Regions from separate parts of the Homo sapiens genome. Here region 2 is linked to region 1. The links are contacts of gene promoters, found by promoter capture Hi-C in blood cells and fetal thymus (Javierre and others, 2016). All regions are on one chromosome and are shown on one strand. Each heading gives the region's core, a stretch centred on a gene start or on the middle of the fragment in contact. The rest is flanking DNA. Distances are from core to core; before and after follow the strand shown. Region 1 holds the start of NETO1 (neuropilin and tolloid like 1). Region 2 has its middle 120 kb from the start of LINC02864.

What was found. The method cuts DNA at HindIII sites, captures the fragments that hold promoters and counts their contacts. A CHiCAGO score of 5 or more calls a contact.
Region 2: a fragment that was not itself captured here is called in contact with the fragment with the promoter of NETO1 in region 1 in 2 of 17 cell types (total B cells and naive B cells); the score reaches 5.9 in total B cells.

Annotation. Positions count from the first base shown.
Region 1 is chr18:72,866,737-72,871,918 of GRCh38, reverse strand. It overlaps NETO1 (neuropilin and tolloid like 1), which reads left to right and starts at 3,932. Exons shown (of 11, transcript NM_138966.5): 1 at 3,932-4,655. The coding sequence starts at 4,628. It overlaps NETO1-DT (NETO1 divergent transcript), which reads right to left and starts at 3,531. Exons shown (of 2, transcript NR_134648.1): 1 at 3,457-3,531. The HindIII fragment of the contact is 9,933 bases long and covers 1,977-5,182 here.
Region 2 is chr18:73,145,175-73,150,232 of GRCh38, reverse strand. No RefSeq gene overlaps it. Among named protein-coding and RNA genes, the nearest start is that of LINC02864, 120 kb to the left of the region's middle. The HindIII fragment of the contact is 476 bases long and covers 1,567-2,042 here.

The sequences.
Region 1 (5,182 bases), core at 2,683-5,182:
TAAATAAATTATGTAAAAATCAGAAAATATTATTGTAATATGGATGTGTCATTAGCACTATTACATTTGAGTTATTTTTTGTAGCATCACCTCTTTTACTGATAGACAACTTTTAAGATGATGCCAGTACTGGAGATTAATTAACAAAGGAGCCCTGGTAGAACTGTAGCTTTATTTTTTCCTATAGAGAAGTACATGTATGTAGACAAATACTATGTGCATTTGAATTAGAAGGGCTTGTACCCTACGCCAATTCTTTTTAGGATTTTGGAAGTCCATATGATCTTTCATTGTTAGGAAGCTGCAAGCTGAGAAATAAAACCAACTTACTAATGACACCTTCATTGGGTTCAAGTGGCTTTAATTCTGCACCATCTTCTATAGTAGTCACTATTTCAATGCTAACCTTGGGGAACTGCGACAAAGCACCATCTTCCAGGATGGCACACTCAACTCACAAAAGCTATCAGTTTATATGCTCTTCCTTTCAAAATAACGACATCATCTTGTAATTTGACCATATGTTTGCGCAACCTTTTCTGGGAGAAACTGAACTTTTCCCATATGTTGTTTTTTCTCAGAAAGAAAAATCTTATGGGTCCCTATTAGGGAGGTAGCATTACTCAGCAAGTGTGGATTCTGGAACTCAAAAATGAGAAGGCAGCTTGCCAAGTAAACAGGATGTAGTGGATGGTGAAAAGCGTGTATGGGTGTGTATGAAGAAAAATGAATGGAATTGTCAATAACAATGCTACACTTGCAGCCTGGAAAGAGTAGGAGAGTGCAGCGCGGGCCTCAGCATCTGTGTTGGCCCAGTCTCTTGGTTGATTATCAGAGCACCTGAGCTAGCCAGGCCTCTGTCCTGTCCTAGGTCCAGAACGTGCACACTCACTCCCTCAGCACTGAGGTTTCAGCAAAATTTAATGCCTCAGCCCCACGCATTGCCCGAGAAAGCACTGGGCATTAAAGATCAGCGGGAGGCCACAGGATCACTTTTGGCCAGGAGTCTGAGAACAGCATGGGTAACATGGCTAGACCCCCTCTCTAAAAAATATAAAAAATAAAAGAATTAGCCAGGCATGATGGCCTGTGCCTGTAGTCCCAGTTACTCCAGAGGCTGAGGTGGGAAGCTCAGTTGAGCCCAGGAAGTTGGGGCTGCAGCAAGCTGTGATCCAGTCACTGCGCTCCAGCCTTTAATTCATTAAAAAAAGAAAAAAAATGGAGACCACTGTTTATGCAAGATATTTGATTTCAAATACAGGCGTGGACAAAAGGTTAGGACCCTTTCACCTTCCTTATGAGTTCCTTCCTAATTTCCTGTGTCCCATAAAAGGACTACTTGTTTAGCAACGTAGCCCCTTCCTTGGCAGGTTACAAAATCCCAGTGTCCTGGGAAACTGTTCTGGGCAAAGAGGACAGAAGAGGGCAGGTGAATGAGAGCATTTATGGTAAAACCAAGTTTTCTCTGCCTTCAAACTGTGATTGAGAAATGCAGTAACTTTCTACAAATAATTTTAAATGTTGCCACTTTCTTTGTAGAACTGTGTCATCTTCACGAATAACGCATATTTTGGATGTAAAGAAAGTGCCATCCAACCATAAGAAAGATTCCAACATTCAACTGTCAACTCTTGCGACTGGTCCTTTTGCAAGACCTCCACCCTCTCCTCTATAGATGACCCGGATCCCCAAAAGCGTTTTCCAAGCATTCTGTCATCTGCATATCCCTCTGTTGAGCAGCCTCACTGATCTTTGAACTCTTTTGCTTCCTTAAGGCTGGAGAATTTCTTCCTCAACTCCACGACGAACATTGCCCACCACCTCCCACCCCGCGCTGGCACGAGCACCTCACGTGGGTCACAGGACTCCCGCGGGACCTTCTGCGTGTTTCCCCTTGATCTTTTTACAAGTAGGTGCGTGGGCGGATACTCACCAATCTCCCTTCATCCGCTCACCTCTCTCCCTTTGCTCAAGCTTGCAGCTCCTCTCACAGGCCTCCAGCTCTGCTGGACTTGGCGTATTCAGAGGCGCGCAGCCTCTCTGTCCTCTTCCCTCTCCCCCATTTCTTCTGTCCTCCGCCTTCTCGTCTCCCTACTCTCTTCTGTCCCCTCATTCTCTCTCCTGCCTCTCTTTTCTCTCCCCGCTCCTCTTTTCCCTTTCTTCTCTCTCTCCTTTCTCTCTCTCTTACCCTGTCCATGTCTTCCCCCTTCTCTCAGCTTTCTCTCTTTAGGTCTCCATCTCGCTCTACTCCCGGGTTGACCCATGACCCAACTTTCATTACACGGATGCACAACACGCGCGCGCGTATATGCGCGCGCACACACAAACACACCATCCCCTTTGCTCGGTCACTTTACCCCACCCTGGAAATCGAGGAACCAGCACTTTGGTGTGGTGGTAGGAGGCTTGGGGGCGCGTGTGAGACTCTGAATCCCTTCCAGACTTGGGGGTCACCTCATCGTCCCTCATCCCAACTTACTGGCAGGAGACCTCCACCCACTCACAGCCGCTGCGCTAGGCGTGGGCAGGACTGCGACGAGCACCCAACGCCCCGCGCAGCCCCGCGCGCACGTGGGCGCCCCAGCAGCAGGTGCCGGGAAGCGGAGGCCGGGCCAGAGCCGGGAGGCAGCCCCCCGGCCTCGAGCGCTCGCCAGACTCTTCTCATGGCCCTTTCTCCTTTCCTCGGCCTTTCGGGGCCACCCTAGTCTTCACAGCTCAGCGTCTGCTGCTGACCCCCCGCCCCCCGGCGACCCCGCCATTGCCATTAGCTCTTCCTACCCCGGCTTCTTCGCCGCCACAGTCCCCAACCCAAGCCCCAGCCGCGGCGCGGGTGTGGGTGGCCGGACGGGATGGCTTCCGTAGTCCCGGGGTCCGGCGGGCTCGGCTGTGGTCTGCGTGGGTCGCGTCCGCAGAGGCCGAGGGAGGGCGGGACGGAGCCGGGAAAGGGAGGAGGTGCCGTTGCGGCGCCCAGGGAGGGACTCCCTGCACCCCCGCGCGCTCCAGCCCTTCCCGGCGCTGCCTCGCGGTTGCCCTTATTTCGTATTCATTGATTCGCATTTTACAAGCCCGGGCTCTTCCGGTGCTGTTTCCCCGCAACTCGTGTCTCCCAGACTTTAACGCGCCGCGCGAGCCTGTAGGAGGAAGTGGCGCGGGGGAACGGGGGTCCGTGTGTGCCTTGGGGTGGTTTTAAATACCTCGAGGTGGGGGGCTCAATTGCAAGAAGCCCGCGTCTTTGCAGGAGTAATTTGGTGGGGGGACTGGACATCAGGCCCAGTGCTCAACCGCGAAACTTTTACGGCCGCCTTTCCCTGGGGCGCGCCCCTGCCGTGTCTCCCAAGCTGAGCGCGGAGTCCGCGGCGAAACCTGCGCCCCAGGGAGGGAGGGAGAGGGGGCGCCCAGTTCCTTTACGCGGATGGAAAAGAAGGGGTGGGAGGCAGAGAGCCCGCAAGGTCTAACCTTTAAAAAGTGAAACACCAAACCCCACAAGGGATTTTCACACGAAGGCCCCTCCCGCTTCCACGCCTTCCGTCCGGCACGAGGATCCGGCTCGGGATTTGCGGCTGCATCCTCTCTCTGCGCCCTGGCGGGCCGAGCCGCGGATCCCAGCCGGGTCCTCACCCCCTCCCCGCCCCTCCCCCAGATCCGCGCGGCTGGGATGTCCTTGCTGCCGCCGCCGCGGCCCCATTCTGCCGCGCACCAGCCCCGGGGCGCCGGCCGCGCGCAGCCTCGCTATCCCACCCAGGCTCCGGGCTTCCAGGAGGGTCGTGGAGCCCCAAGCCATGACTAAGGAGCCCATTTGGTAACTCTGCCCTCTTCCGGCTCCTTTCTCCTCCCTCCCTTCCCCGCCCCCCGGCCCCCCCCCCGGCCGCCCCGCTCCCCTGCACCGCCCTCCAGCCCGCCTCCCAGACGCCCACCCACCCGCTCCTCTTTCCGCAAGATAGCAGAGGTGGCGCGCAGCCCGGCGAGCCGATGACGGACCCCTTCTTCCTGCCTTCAATGCCTCAGCGGAAGATCCCCAAGGGCTGGAGCGAGGAGCGCTGCCGCTGGACATCCTCCCGGGGAGGCTGCTCCGACCTGCTGCGCGGCGCGTCTGAGACTGGGGACTGAGCCACCCCGCCGCCGCCGGCGCCGCCGCCGCCGCCCGCTCCGTCGCTGCCGTCGGTCTGGACTGGCCCCCACCTCGCTGCGCCCTCTCCCCGGCCCCGGCCCCGGCTCGGGGCGTCCCGGGGCTCGCCCTGCGACCGCCGCCTCCCGCGCGCCGCGTCCTCCCGACCCCGCGGCGGCGACGATGCCCGGGAGGAGGGTCCTGACGGCGGCGGCGCGGATGGTGGCGGCCGGCGCCCGGGTGTGATGCGAGCGTCACGGTGGGGATGCTGCTGGCTGCGCGGCGCTGAGGGCCAGCGAGAGCGAGAGCCCGCCCGGGGCGGAGGACGGACTCATCCGGATCTGGCTGCAGCGTGGGCTCGGAGCTCCCCCTTCCTCTCGGTCTCCCTCTCGGCCCCCCTTTATTTCCTTCTTGCTTTGCGTCTTTAACACCTCTCGACCCTGTCCTCCCCCCGCCACTGGAAGTCTTCCCGTCTCTAAATGGAATTAGTGGAGCCCGGAGCCTCTGGTGTAACGCACAGACATGATCCATGGGCGCAGCGTGCTTCACAGTGAGTACCCTCCCCGCCGCGCCCGTGCGCTCCCGGAGCCAGCCCTCCCGCCCCTTTCCCGGGGCCGAACGCGCAGGAAAAGCCTCTGCGCCGCGCTCCGGCGGACCCTGCAGTCCCGCGCGGGTCGGGGCCGACGTAAACTTTCTGTATTGCAGCATCGTGGAACCGGGCGTGGGGGCGGCGCGCGGTCAGCCGTCGCCGGATCCCAAAACCTGCCGGAGAACGGTCTTTCAGTGCGCAGGAACCCCCCGGGGGTGGAGGATAGCGTGCAGTTCAGGGATGGACACGTGCGGCAGAGATTGGCCCAAGCGAGGGCGCAGGTGGAAAGCGGGAGAGCGCGGATGATACCTAGTGGGGCCAGAGGAGTCTTCCTCTTCTAGGGGCTCCCGGAGCTCGGCGGGCCCCTGTTCGCAGTACAGGAGGTAGCAGAAGGCACACCTGAAGCCAGCGCTGGAGGGAAGGGCGAGGGTCAGCTTCCACCCCTTTCCGCCCTGGAGACCGCTGATGTCGCTTTATGGGTGTGTGGT
Region 2 (5,058 bases), core at 555-3,054, 280 kb before region 1:
TTTAACATATAATACACAAAATGTTTTTCTCCAATCAAGAGTTTTATTGTACTTATGTATCATCCTAATTTTTAAAAATTATGTTGATTGAGATCAGAATTTGAATAACATTGGAAATGACTGAGCAGTCAGTGCATTGCATTTATTGCAAAATATAAAATAGCTGGTGACATAGTGAGAATTCAAACAATATCCCATTTCATTTTCATAATACCATCTCTCTTAAAAATGTATTTTTTTTCCTATATTGTTTTGAGCTTTCTTCAACTCAGGAGTTGCTTTATAACTAAATATATTTAAAATATTATATCTTTTAATAAAGTACAAAATATCTTCAAGCTAGGTTGTGAATTCTCAAATAGAAAGTCCTAACACCCTCCTATTGAAGTGCATTTAAGTATGTTAATGTTTGTGAAATACTGATCAGTCTTTTGTGTTCTTTCTCCCTGTCTGGGCCTGGGTTTCAAAATTGCCAGTGAACCACATTCAGGGACAAACTTTGTTAAACTCAGTGTCATGAAATAAACCACTCATGCATGTATCAGCACAACTACAGATACTCCCAATAACTGAAAATTTGAATAAGTGAAGCTGAGTAACCTGCAAGAATTGAGAAGAGAAACAGAAAAATCCTCTGTTAAAGGATTTATGCGATGCTATTAAATGTTTGCATTATAGTAATTCGGTAGGAAAACAGAGGGATAAGAGCACAGAAAATATATTTCATAAAATAATAGCTGAAAATTTCACAAGTCTTGGGACAGATGTGAACATCCAGATTCAGGAAGCTGAAAGAACTTTGATTAGATTCAACCCAAAAAGAAACTCTTTAAGGCACATTTTAATCAAACTGTCAAAGACAAAGAGAACTCTAAAAGCTGCAAGGGAAAAAAGTCAAGTCACAGAAAATGGAATCCCCCATCAAATGATTAGGAGATTTCTTAGCAGAAACCTGGCAAGCCTGAAGAGAATGGGATGATATACTCACTGTGCTCAAAGAACTCCCCCAAAACAAAAAACTACCACCAATACTAGATCTAGCAAAGTTATCCTTTAGAAATGAAGGGGAAATAAAGAACTACCTGGACAAGCAGAATCTGAGGGAATTCATCACCACTAGACCAGTCGTACAAAAAGTGCTTAAGAGAATGCTGCAACTGAAAGTATAAATAAATAAATACTAAAATGAAAACATGTGCAAGTATAAAACTCATTAGTAGAGTTGAATTTATAAATCAAAGTTGGAATACTCCAGTGATGTTTGGTGCTATGTAAATCTTAAATTTCTGCAGTATGAAGGTTGAAAGTCGAAATGGTCAAAAATAACAACAGCTAATATTAGCAGCTAATAAAAACAAAATAGATAAAGATGTAAATTAAGGCAACAAAAATATAAATTATGGGGGTAGAGAAAAAGTCTAGAATATTCTTATGTGAGTAATGTTATTATCAGTTTAAAAAACAAGTCTATTGCAGATCCAATATTCTTTATGTTAGACTCATGGTAACCAGAAAGAAACAAATTACTGCAGACATGCAAACAAAAAAGAAAAATGAAACAAAGCTTAGCATCACAGAAAACCACTGGTTCATAGATGCAAACAAGAAGAGTGGAAGAAAGGGACAAAGATCTACAAAACACACACACCAATTGGGTAGGCTCAAATCCACAACAACAATATGAAATGGTGGCAGTAATGTGGAGATATAGAAACTCATCCATTGCTTGAGTGAAGGTGCAGTGCCACAGCCACCCTGAAAGAGTGAAGCAGTTTCTTATAATGGTGAACGAGTCTTACCATACTATCTAGCAATTGTACTTTGGGATATATATGCAATTGATTGAAATCTTTGTTCACACCAAAACTTGCAGGTGAAATGTTTTAGCAGCTTTATTCTTAATCACCAAAGACTGAAAGCAATCAACATATTCTTTTAGGTAAATGGATTTTTTAAAAACCTGGTACGTTCATACAATGAAATATTATTTCAGCAATGAAAAGAAATTAGCCATTAAGTCATAAAAAGACACGGAGGAAGCTTAAGTGCTCATTGCTCAGTTAAATAAATCAATCTGGAAAGTTTACATAATGTATGATTCCAAATATGTCTCATTCTAGAAAAGACAAAACTATAGACACTATAGAAAGATGGTTTCTAAGAGGGAGGGGATGAAGGATGACTATGTGAAGCAGAGGGAATTTTCAGAGCAGGATAACTATTCTCCATGATACTGTAATTGTAGATATATGATATTAGGCGTTGTCAAAACTTATAGACCTTCACAGCGCAAAGAATGAACCATCATGTATTCAATTAAAGAAAACCATTTAGGAGGTCAGAGGCTCTCAGGAAGGAATGTAGATTCTAACAAGATGATCAAACTATATTACAAATTTATGAAAAGGTATCCCCAAAGAAGGTGGAGGGAAATATGCTGACCTAAGTCATTTTAGAAATGTATGTATAAAAATGGAGAAGGAACTGTTCCTAAGCACTGTATTCTCATTTCAAAAGTAATATCCACCAGGGATCTGGGTTAGTAATTCTGAAACTGCTATACGTGTGTCTAAAATTAAGCAATTAATCAAATAGGCAGTGAGTGGTGGGAGCTGTTGGAGTGAGAATTTACTGATTAGCAATATGAGGAGGCTAGAATGATCCAGGTGGTAAGGTATTATGGTTGGAAACATTGCTATGAACTAAAGTTAGGCCTAACATAGCTTCAGATGGTTAAATAGAAAAACTTATAAATATGTGTATATGCCTGGGTTATTATAATCACATGTTCCCGTATTATGTCAGTTAAGAGGGCCTAGAAACTATAAATTCCTAAGAATAACAAGCACACCCAGCAGATCTTAGTTTCCTTCACTTTTTTAATATAAGGAACCAGAGCTCATGAAATAAATGACCAATTCTAGAGCATGGGTGGGAAATATAAAAGATGAGCCTGGAGCACCTTGTAGTGCCAGAAAGTAACAAACTGAAACAAACAAACAAACAATAAAACTCCAAACTCCCACAAAACTGAAACAATTTGAGAAACACAACAAACAAGACAATACTGTTATCTGTACCCAAAGCATAAAATAACCATCCATGAGCTATAGTGAAATAAATAAATTGTAAATTAATGCCAGGAGAAAAGATAAGCCTCTCTTAGAATTAATTCATGTATACATTCCATCTTCAAGGAATAGAAACTTGTAAAGAGCAACTAAAAAGGGCAACTGGACAATAGCGTTTGTCAGGTTTCTCCCTGAAATCCATAACCCCAGCCTAATCGTGTGAAAAAAAACATTAAACAAACTCCATTTGTCAAATATTCTGAAGACACTGACCAGTCCTCCAGAAAACTGCCAAGGGCATTGAAAACAAGGACAATCTGAGAAACTGTCATAGCCAAGAGGAGCTTAAGGAGACACAACAGCCATAGGTATATGGGAAACCAGATGAGATAATGGAACAGCAAAAGAACATTAGATAAAAACCAAGCACATGTGCCTATGCTATAGGCTTTTGTTAGAAACTAATGCATTGATTTTGAGTAAACAAATATTGCCAACATACCACATGAATGTGAGCTGTTAATAATAGAAAAATTGAATGTGAGATATATGAGAACTCTGTGTTATATCTCAAGTTTTCAGTAAATCAAAAATATTTTAAAAATAAAACAGGCTTTAAAAATAAAGTCTATTTAAACAAAAATAAAAAATAAAATACAACGGCACCCCTTAAATCAGAATAGAACATGATGAAATAATACATTTTAAGCTTCATTATTGGCACCATTCTAAGAAGTTAGGTAACAGCAGTGAATAAAATGAGCACAATTCCACCTCTCAATGCCTTACATTTTTAGGGGGGCAGTTGAAAATAAAACATTTAAAATATATAGGACATTTAAAGGTGATATTTTTTAAATAAAGTAAAATAAAGGACAAAAGAGGATAAGTTGTTCTAGGGAATGGCGTTAGGGTTGAATTTTTGAATAGGCAACTAAAACAACTTTATTCTTTAGACATCATGACCATTAGTTGCACCTAGTGAGCTTGGGCATACAGAAATATTTATCAGTAATGTCTAGGACAAAATTGAGAAGCATTCTAGAAATGGAGGTAAATAAGAAAGCTAAAAGGATGAGAGCATGGTAGAAGTTGATGTCACAGCATGTCCAGGGCAACACAAATAGGTATTGGTAATTCAGAAAACAGAACAAGTTGGAGAGGGGAGTTAGCAGTTAAAATGTTAGGGAAAACATTTCATTTTCTAACTATACACTTTGAATATGAAACTTGAAGGGGCTAAAATAAACTCAATGATAAATTTATTAAAACTTATATAAGCTTCAATAAAATTGATAACATCTCTGAACTTATACCATAAAAAGAAAGTTTCAAGCCTCAAAAACAGAATACAAAGGTTAAATTCATCTCAAAAAAAACAAAAATCTGAACAATCTCAGATTTCTCGACCTCAAAATATAAAGATTCTAAAAATGAAAAGTTTCTGTTTCAAGAATAATGCATCTAGCTAAAGTCAAATTATTGAAAATAATTTTCACATAGAAAATATTTAAGCTTAGTAACCAACTAGAAGATCATTACTCAAATTCAAATCAATAAATGATAAATCAAATGTAATAAATAAAGAATGAGATGTTAAAGATAGAAAAATATTGATAATAAAAATTGAAGTTAAGTAAACATCAGATAAGTATACAGTGGAAAGGTGACAATGAATTAAATAACTACAACTTTTGTAAGAATATGCATAGGTAAAAAATATAATAAAGTCATGATGTTTATTATTAAATTCCACAGTAGTAGAAACTAAAAATACTGAATTGAAAACAGAAAGATCTCTATATAATTTAGAGGGTTCTGGTTTCATTTATTCACCTTCAAAGTTTATATTACAGAATAATAAACCTATACACTAATGACTAACTTAAATAGAAATTAACAAAGCCACTCCTTCTATAACAGCATCAAAAAGGATAAGATAATAAAGAATAAATTTAATCAAGGAAGCAAAAGATCCATATACTGA